2 separate regions of the Homo sapiens genome follow, and region 2 is linked to region 1. Evidence: promoter capture Hi-C in human tissues and cell types (Jung and others, 2019). All regions are on one chromosome and are shown on one strand. The core of a region is centred on a gene start or on the middle of the fragment in contact, and the rest is flanking DNA. Distances in the headings are between cores, read along the strand shown.

Region 1 (4,109 bases), core at 1,014-3,513:
AGCAGTGAGTCGTTCCAAGATCTAACATTATACATGTTCATTTTGCTTTATTTTTCAATATTATCTAATTGTGAATTGAATAATATCTTAAGTTACAAATTATTCTAGAATAATAAAAGTCATAAATGTTTCAATGAAATGGGGCACTGAGCAAATGAAATCAAAGCAGTCCAGGACATTGGACTTTACCACTCTGCTTCCTAAATAACCATATCACACCAGCCCCAGCCCCAACAGTATCTGTAGGGACTGCCTCCAGCTCATTTCCCAGACACACAATTAGTTGATAGAATTTGTCATTGCTCATCTCGATAGTAACTAAAAAACGTTAGAAAATTATTTTCTTTACTTAGATCTATATCAGGCATAAAAGACACATATATTACCTGTGGATAGCATCTACACATCTACCTCCATTTTAATCTAAAGAGTAACTGATGTCCCCTCATCTCCCTTTCCACCTCCCCACTGACTTCTTGAGTTAGAAGATGCAAAGAGAAAACCAAACGATAGCAGACTGACAGAAGCTCAGGTGGGAACTAAGAACATCTCTTGAAATATAATGTGGCCTAATGGATATGGTGCTGCTAATTTGTCTTGTACCACGTACTCAGTGTAATTGAACTGCCTTTCTGAGAACTAAGATAAAAATTACAATTAAACGTGTGATGAAAAAAATGGTCTTGCATGTCTTCCCTCACAGGACTCAGGATATTTTAATATCAAACTGGCTTTAAGACACTTGGAGTTAGCTTGGAGAACTGTTTTTTGCAGGTGAGACAAAGCCTGTGTGTGCATGTCCACACCTGGGGTAGGAGGAATAAAAGCGAACATTTGTACTGTTGTCAATAGTCTGCTTAATCTGCTCCTCCTAGCAATTATTTGTTACCTATTTAACCTCTGTACCGCTTTTCTCCTTCACTCTTACTTCCATTTATATTTCAACTTACTCCCAAGTATAATAAAGAATAGACTTGAATATTCAAATCATTTAAGTTTGTTGGATAATCTCTTTCAACACAAAATAGAAGCACAATGTTACTGAGAATCGTAAGCACCAAATCCCTTTTATTACAATTTCCTGCATTCTGTCATGCTTATTTGTGTTTCAGAAACAAGCTCTGCGGGGGTGGGGGGGGTGGGGGGGGTGGAGGAGATCACAACCTCAGACAGTCTGCGGTGTTCAGGGTCATGCCCGTGGCATAATTAGGAGGAACATTCGACCTGGCCCCTGGGCAGGCTGTGCCCTGCTTGGCTTGGCTTGTGAATGCAGCAGACGTGAGCCCCGTCCTGACTGCTGCTGAATCAGAGGGACAGGGGCGAAGGCCCAGAGGCCTTCCTTGGCACATGTTTTGGGTTTCGTTTTTCAACAAGACTTTGAATACGGTGATTCCACTTGCTGTATTTCACAGCAGGCTACGCATGGGGAAGTCCCGATGGGGTCAAGGAGCAGTCAAGCCAGGAGGTGATATGGAAAACTGATTTGAACGTGAAGAAGGCAATGCGAGATGCACTGGAAGACTGTGGGGAAGGATCAGGGGAGTGGTTCACTTTGAAATAAGGAAGAAAAGGAGGAAGAGAAGGTGGCAGAGATGCAGCAGAAGATACCAAGAGAGGAGGACAAGGTGGCACAAGAAGGGGAGGAGAGAGAACTTAATCTGCTCAAGTTCCAGACTGGGCAAGGGTCTTTCTTGCAGGAAGTTTACAGACATTCCAGTTTCAAATCTGAAGTGATTTTGCCTAAGGAGAAACCCTCACTACCCGCCAAAAACATGCCATCTGAACAGGGAAGGTGATGGCAAGATTGGGCAGGTGCTGTGGAGAAGACCTCTGCTGGACTTCGTGCCTCCTTAGCTCTGGAATCACAGGATCTGCAAGAGCATCTACCTGCGCTCACCAGCACGTTCCGCCAGCCTCCCTCCCCCAACCCACCTGGCCACTCTAGGACCCCTCGCACCCTGGTCCTTTGTTGCAGGCTGACATCTGCCCCACCAGAGTCAACTGTCAGCGCCTTGCACGTGAATTAGGGAAGCGGAGTAACCTGGGGTTCCATCCCTTCCCGGGTCCCTTCCAGCTTTCGCCTAGCTCCGGAGCATCCACCCATCTCAGGTCCAGGGCGTGCGTTCCCAAGGATGCTCGGCCCTCTCCCAACCCGCGGCCTCCTCCCCTCTCTCCCGCGGCTGCCGCTGCTGCCGCGAAAACCAGGAGAAGTGGAACGCGCGCGGCGAAGCGCCGCTCTCGCGGCGGCACTGGGCATGCTCCGCACCCGGGGCCGGTTTCGGCGGCGGGGCGGACGCTCCCTCACTAGCCGGGCGCCCGGGCCGGCCGCCGAGGTTTAGGTGGAGGCTGAGGCTGCCGCGCGCCGCGGGAGGAGCCTCGCCCTCGGCGGCTGAGGCGGCGGCGGCACAGGTGGCGCGGGCCGCGCGCGGGGCGCAGCTCGGGAGCGCTCGGCGCCGGGCGCCGCGGCGGCCCCAGGCTCGCGCCCGCGGCGACAGCCGGCTGAGCGGAGCTGCGGGCGCGGCGGCTGCTCTCTCAGCCCGGCCGGCTGGCGGCGGCGCCCGGAGCCCCGAGGAGCCCGCAGGAGCCCGTGGAGCCCGCGGAGCCGGGCAGGGGGCGCTGCGCTCGCCGAGCTCGGAGGGGCCGCCGGGCCGGGCGCTGCGCACTCGCGTCGGGAGCCGCCTCTCGCCCGCGGCGCTCGCCCCTGCCGCCCGCCAGCATCCCTTGTCCCGCGGCCGCGCTCAGACAACAAAAGCGGAAGATGCTGCAGTTGGGCAAGGTCAGGACCTTGCCCTGAAGCCGGGCGGCGCCGCGCACGCCTCTTCCCGGACTGAGGAGCTGTCGCCGGCGGAGGGTGCATGTTTGCGAGGAAGCCGCCGGGCGCCGCGCCTTTGGGTGAGTTGCGGGGCTGGGCGGCCGGGGCCGGGCGCAGCCTCCTCCCGGCGCCGTCCTCCTCCTCTTGCCGCTGGTGGGGGTGGTCCTGGGCTCCCGGCCGGCAGGCGGCGGCGGCGGCTGCTGCGGGGTTTCTGCCTGCCTCGGGGAGGACCGCGATCGCGCCAGGTCCCCCTCGGAAGCCGCTGTGCCTGGAAGGGGGTCCGGGGTTAGTGCCTTTCTTGGAGCGGTTACCAAGTGGCTGCCCTGCGTGCTCCCCCTCCCTGCCACCCATCTCCCCGGGAGGAAGCGTATTTAGGGCAACACCGACAATGCTGCTCCCCGCCACCCTGAGAACATACTCGGTGCATTCATGACGTCCCTAATATACGGGAGGAGACGGGGTGGGGGTGGGGAGGACTTCCCTCCAGTCTTTTGCCCTTATGTTCAATGTCATTACGATGTTTGGCTAGAACAAAATGGAAAGACTTAGTCATATGCGTCCATGGCCGTGTCTTCAGGCTCCCGCGGCTTGCCAGACCCTGAGCCCCCTTGGTCTATATTTAGCGGCTTCCCAGCAAGCCTTTGCAGCCGGCTTCACAGGTTTCGGGGGCTTCTGCGTGCTGACAATAGACAGCCAGGCTCCAGAAAGCGCCGCCTGAAAGCCAGGTTTGGAAGGCTGTGCGTGTGTATGGGAGATGAGCGATGCAAAATTGGGGTGATCCGTAATTAATGGCTGAAAGCGAAGCTGCTTTTTTCTTTTTTTCCCGACCCTCATCTTATTCTGGTGTGTAGTGTGTTTTCTTCGATTGCCACTCGGCAGGTTGAGCCTCTGCTTTCAGAATTAAGTCACTAGAAAGGTGATGCAGCCTCCCTGGTGTTTGTGGTAGGAAAACAGACTTGGGAATTTTTGGGGTGTGTGTGTGTGTGTCACAAATAACAGTTACTTCCAAAATGCCCAAAGTTGTATTTTGCTGTAACCGTGGGGGTATGAAGGGTGTGGGAGATGAGAGATAGAGGGGCAGGTTGTGTTTCCAAGGTGTTTTTTTTTCTTTTCTTTTCTTGTGTGCCTCATTTGAGCTGATCTGATTCGCCTTAGCTCTGGCAGGTGTTATTAAGATGTATTTTTACTGTGCTCAAGCAAATATGTTGATTTAGAAAACAGAGAATGTTGTCAGCATAGTATTAGGCCTGACAGGTGTAAATTTTCACTTTTAAGAACTATGTGACCAATATTTAAG
Region 2 (4,140 bases), core at 220-2,719, 36 kb after region 1:
ACAGGAAAAGGAAATACACATATTTGGACTAAATTGACTTGTCTCCTCACCTTCTAGTGTACCTCTTGGACAAAATACTTTTGAAAAATAGATCTGTTTTTATTGCATTAAAGCATACATAAAATTTACCACCTTAGCCGTTTTTAAGTATAGAAGTAAGTGGCATTATATACACTGATGATGCTGTGCAACCGTCATTATCATTTCCAGAACTTTTGCATTATTTCGAATAGCAGCTCTGTACCAATTAAACAGTAATTCTCCATCTTTCCATTCTTGCAGCCCATAGCCAACATCAGTCTACTTCCTGTCTTTATGAATTTGGCTATTCTTGGTACTTCATATAGGTGGAATCACATATTATTTGACCTTTTGTATCAGGCTTATTTCACTCAGCATGATACTTTCAAGGTTAATCCATGTTGTGGCATGTGTCAGAAGTTGGCACCTTCTTATGTCAGAATAATATTCCATTGTATGAATAAACCACATGTTGTTTGCCCATTCATCCATCAATTGACATTCGAGTTGCTTTCACCTTTTGGCAATTGTGAATAATGCTGCTGTGAACATTGGTGTGCAAGTATCTGAGTCTTTGTTTTCAGTTCTTTTGGGTATATACCTAAGAGTGGGGTTGGTGCATCATATGGCAATTCTGTGTTTACCTGTTTTGAGTGAATAGACTGTACCATTTCACATGCCTGTTAGCAATGCATGAGGGTTCCAGTTTGTCCACATTTTCACCAACACGTATTTTCCATGTTTTAAAGTATGGCCATTCTAATGGATATGAAGTGGTATACTCTAATTTTGATTTGTGCTTCCCTAATGACTGTTGATGTTGGGTGTTTTTTCTTGTGCATATTGGCCATTTGGGTGTCTTTGTCTTGTCTGTGTTCGGTTGCTTATAACCAAAAATGTAAAACTGGCTAATTTATAAATAAAGGGAATGTATTTCTTACATTTATTGAGGCTGAGAAGTCTAAGGTCCAGGGGCCGTATCTTGTGAATACCTTCTTGCTGCTGGAGACTCTGCATGGTCCCAAGGCTGTGGAGGGCCTCACATGGCAAGAGGGCTGAGCACGCTAGCTCAGGTCTTTTTTCCTCTTCTTACAAAGCCATCAGTCCCACTCCCATGGTAACTCATTAATCTATTAATGAATAAATTTATTCATGAACTTAGATCCCTCATGATCCAATTACCTCTTAAAGGCCCTATCTCTCAGTACTGCCACATTGAGGATTAAGTTTCAACGTGCATTTTGGAGGGGACAAATATTGAAACGATAGCAATCTTCTTAGGAGTAATGTCTATTCAAGTCATTTGCTCCTTTTGCATTTTCTTCTTCTTGTTGAGTTGGATACTTTTAAAGAGCAGGCAAACTCCATGATCCCCTTGATTCTGAATATTCAGTCATTTAACACCAAAGATCATTAGTTTGATTAATTTACTTTCAGTGGGTTTCATACCTCTTTTGAAGGTAAGATGATGTTCAAACTGGTAGCTTGGGTCTGTCATTAGTGTTTCCCACATCAGACTGCCCTATGGTGGAATTCACACCCCAATCACCACCCTGGAGCACCCAAAGACTGTCCTGACAGAGCAGAGGCAGGAGTCCAGCCGCAGGTCTTAGTTGGGGCTAGTGTGATCCTCAGCACCACAGCTGGGATGGTGGCTGCATTGGAGGCAAGGGACACCCCTGCGCATGCGTCACTGCTTGCTCTAGCTGTGCCTGCAGGTGAAGTGACCTGTCAGAGGTCACACATAATGGTAAGTGTTAGTTCTAGTACTCCACCTGGGGACTCTGTCTATCCTGCCCCTGCTTCGCCATCAGGGGTTTATCTTGGTTGACAAAAGAGCACTGAGGTGAAGTGTAGGGAACTAGCTCCATGATAATTGGGAAAAACAATCTGATGTGCCTTAGATCATAAAACAGTGAGGCATTCTAGATGTCCAGCGCTGCTTACACTGTTTCTGTTTTTCATAAATTCTTACAATTTATAAATAGTACATTATTTTAATGAAGTCACAGTGTAAGTTGGTGTTTTACTAGGTGTATTGATTACAGTGATCTGCCAAAGTTCTTGGCTTGGAATCACAGCTTTATCACTGATTTGCTGGGTGATTTAGGGTCAGTGTCTTTGACTAGTTGAGACCAGCACAGGCTTTATAGAGCATAGATATTATTGAATGAATGAATGAATGAATGAATGGTCTCAGTATCTATAACTAATGGCAAAACTGGTGGGTCTTTTGAGTTACTTTCTGGTCTAATACACAATAATTCTAAAAATAATGATCACTCATTCTCAAACAGTAGCCACAGGATTTTCTGCCAATGTGACTGAGTATCCTGTTAATGAAACAGAACTGACATCTCCATGTGGAAGAGAGAGAAAATCTTAAACAGCTCGTTAAAGTTCTGATTGGCTGATTATAATAATCTGAGATGTTATTCCTTGCCTGTAATGTTTTCTGTGATTTTGTATTTTCTTCCCCCAAGTAAAAACAAAAACAGCCATTATTTCTTGCCTCAAATAATTATTGGACTTTTCTCTGAAATCAGTGCAAAGTCTGAGCAAAGGGCAATTTTCCTGGCTAGAATTAACATGCAATAAAATTAGTACCACAGCCTCTAGCAAGTTCATCCTTCTCTGGAATAACTCGGCTTGTTGAAACTGTCCCTGGCTTCACAGTATTTTGTACCAGCCAACCAGCTGGATAGTCAAGAAAGGTCATTATGCATTGGCAGTCCAGAAAGCGTTAAAATGTGAGCTTGGATCAGAACCTTGTGGTATTAAATACAGACTTGTGATATTAAAACAAGGCTAAGAAGAGAAGATATAATGCCACATCATGCATTTGTCACAGTGATAGATGTGCTTGCAGATATCTAGAAAAATTGTTACAGCTTATCTACTGCTCGTGATAAGGTGTCAGGGAGGCAGTGTCTTGGAGTGAGTTCATGATAACTAGAATCATGTATTGATTGGGACCACACAGAAGAGAATGCCATTATTGATCACGCGAAGAATTCCAAGAGAAGCCTAATGGCATGTGATTTCTCTTTCTCCCTGTGCGTTATTTTGCATGAGCAGTAGTGTAGTTTGTTATTAGGACAACATGGGAAAGGTGATTACATTGTGGCAAAAGCTTTTCTGTTTGTAGGAAAAATGCAGTAGGAGATCCACGAAAAACATTTAGCACGTAGGATGTGCCAGGCACTGTGCTGCACACTTTAGGTACAAAATCTCCTTCAGTTCTCCCAGTCTCTGAAATGTATTTGTTTTTAAATTTCCTGTGTCAGAGCTGTCAGTGGGGACCTCCTAATTTTTGTAGATGGTTAACCTTGGCCCATACTTCCATTTATAGGGCAACTGAGATTTGAACATCCTGCTCAGGCTTCCTCTTAACCAAGTCCTGTGTCCTCACATGATGCATTGGTTATACCTGACTGCATTCATTTTCTGATGCTGCTATAACAAATCACCATAAATTTCATGGCCTAAAACATCACAAATGCATTTTCTTAAAGGTTTTTTTAGAGACAACGTCTGGCGTTATCATCCTGGCTGGAGTGCAGTGGCAAAATCATAGCTCACTACAGCTTTAAACTCCTGGGCTCAAGCAATCCTCCCACCTCAGCCTCCCGAGTAGCTAGGTTTATAGGCATATGCCACTGCACCTGGCTAACTTTTAAATTTTTTGTAGAGACGAGGTCTTTCTATGTTGCCCAGGCTGGTCTCAAACTAATGGCTTCAAGAGATCCTCCCACTTTGGCCTCCCATAGTGTTGGGATTACAGGTGTGAGCCACTACACCTGTTCCTCTTGAAGTTCTTTATGTTTGAAGCTCTATGTGGGTGTCAGTTGGCTAAAATCAAGGTGTCACTAGGGCTGTGTTCCTTTCTGGAGGCTCTAGAGGAGAACTCGTTTTTTTTTTTTTGTCTCTTCCAGCTTCTAAAGGTTGCCCCCACATTCCTTGGCTTGTGGCTCCTTCCTCCATGTTCAAAGACCGTGTCAACAGGCTGAGTACTTTCCACATTACGTCTATAGTTCTCCTCTTCTTCCTTTGTCCACTTCTCAAGACCCTTATGATTATTGTAAGCCCACCTCAATAATCCAGGGTAATCTCCCAATT

The links. The method cuts DNA at HindIII sites, captures the fragments that hold promoters and counts their contacts. A contact is called where the count stands out against the background at its distance.
Region 2: a contact is called between a fragment that was not itself captured here and the fragment with the promoter of CTNND2 in region 1, in 1 of the 25 tissues and cell types used here (pancreas).

Annotation. Positions count from the first base shown.
Region 1 is chr5:11,902,600-11,906,708 of GRCh38, reverse strand. It overlaps CTNND2 (catenin delta 2), which reads left to right and starts at 2,263. Exons shown (of 22, transcript NM_001332.4): 1 at 2,263-2,892. The coding sequence starts at 2,856. The HindIII fragment of the contact is 17,473 bases long and covers 1-4,109 here.
Region 2 is chr5:11,865,708-11,869,847 of GRCh38, reverse strand. All of the region lies in intron 1 of CTNND2 (catenin delta 2), which reads left to right. Among named protein-coding and RNA genes, the nearest start is that of CTNND2, 37 kb to the left of the region's middle. The HindIII fragment of the contact is 6,917 bases long and covers 1-4,140 here.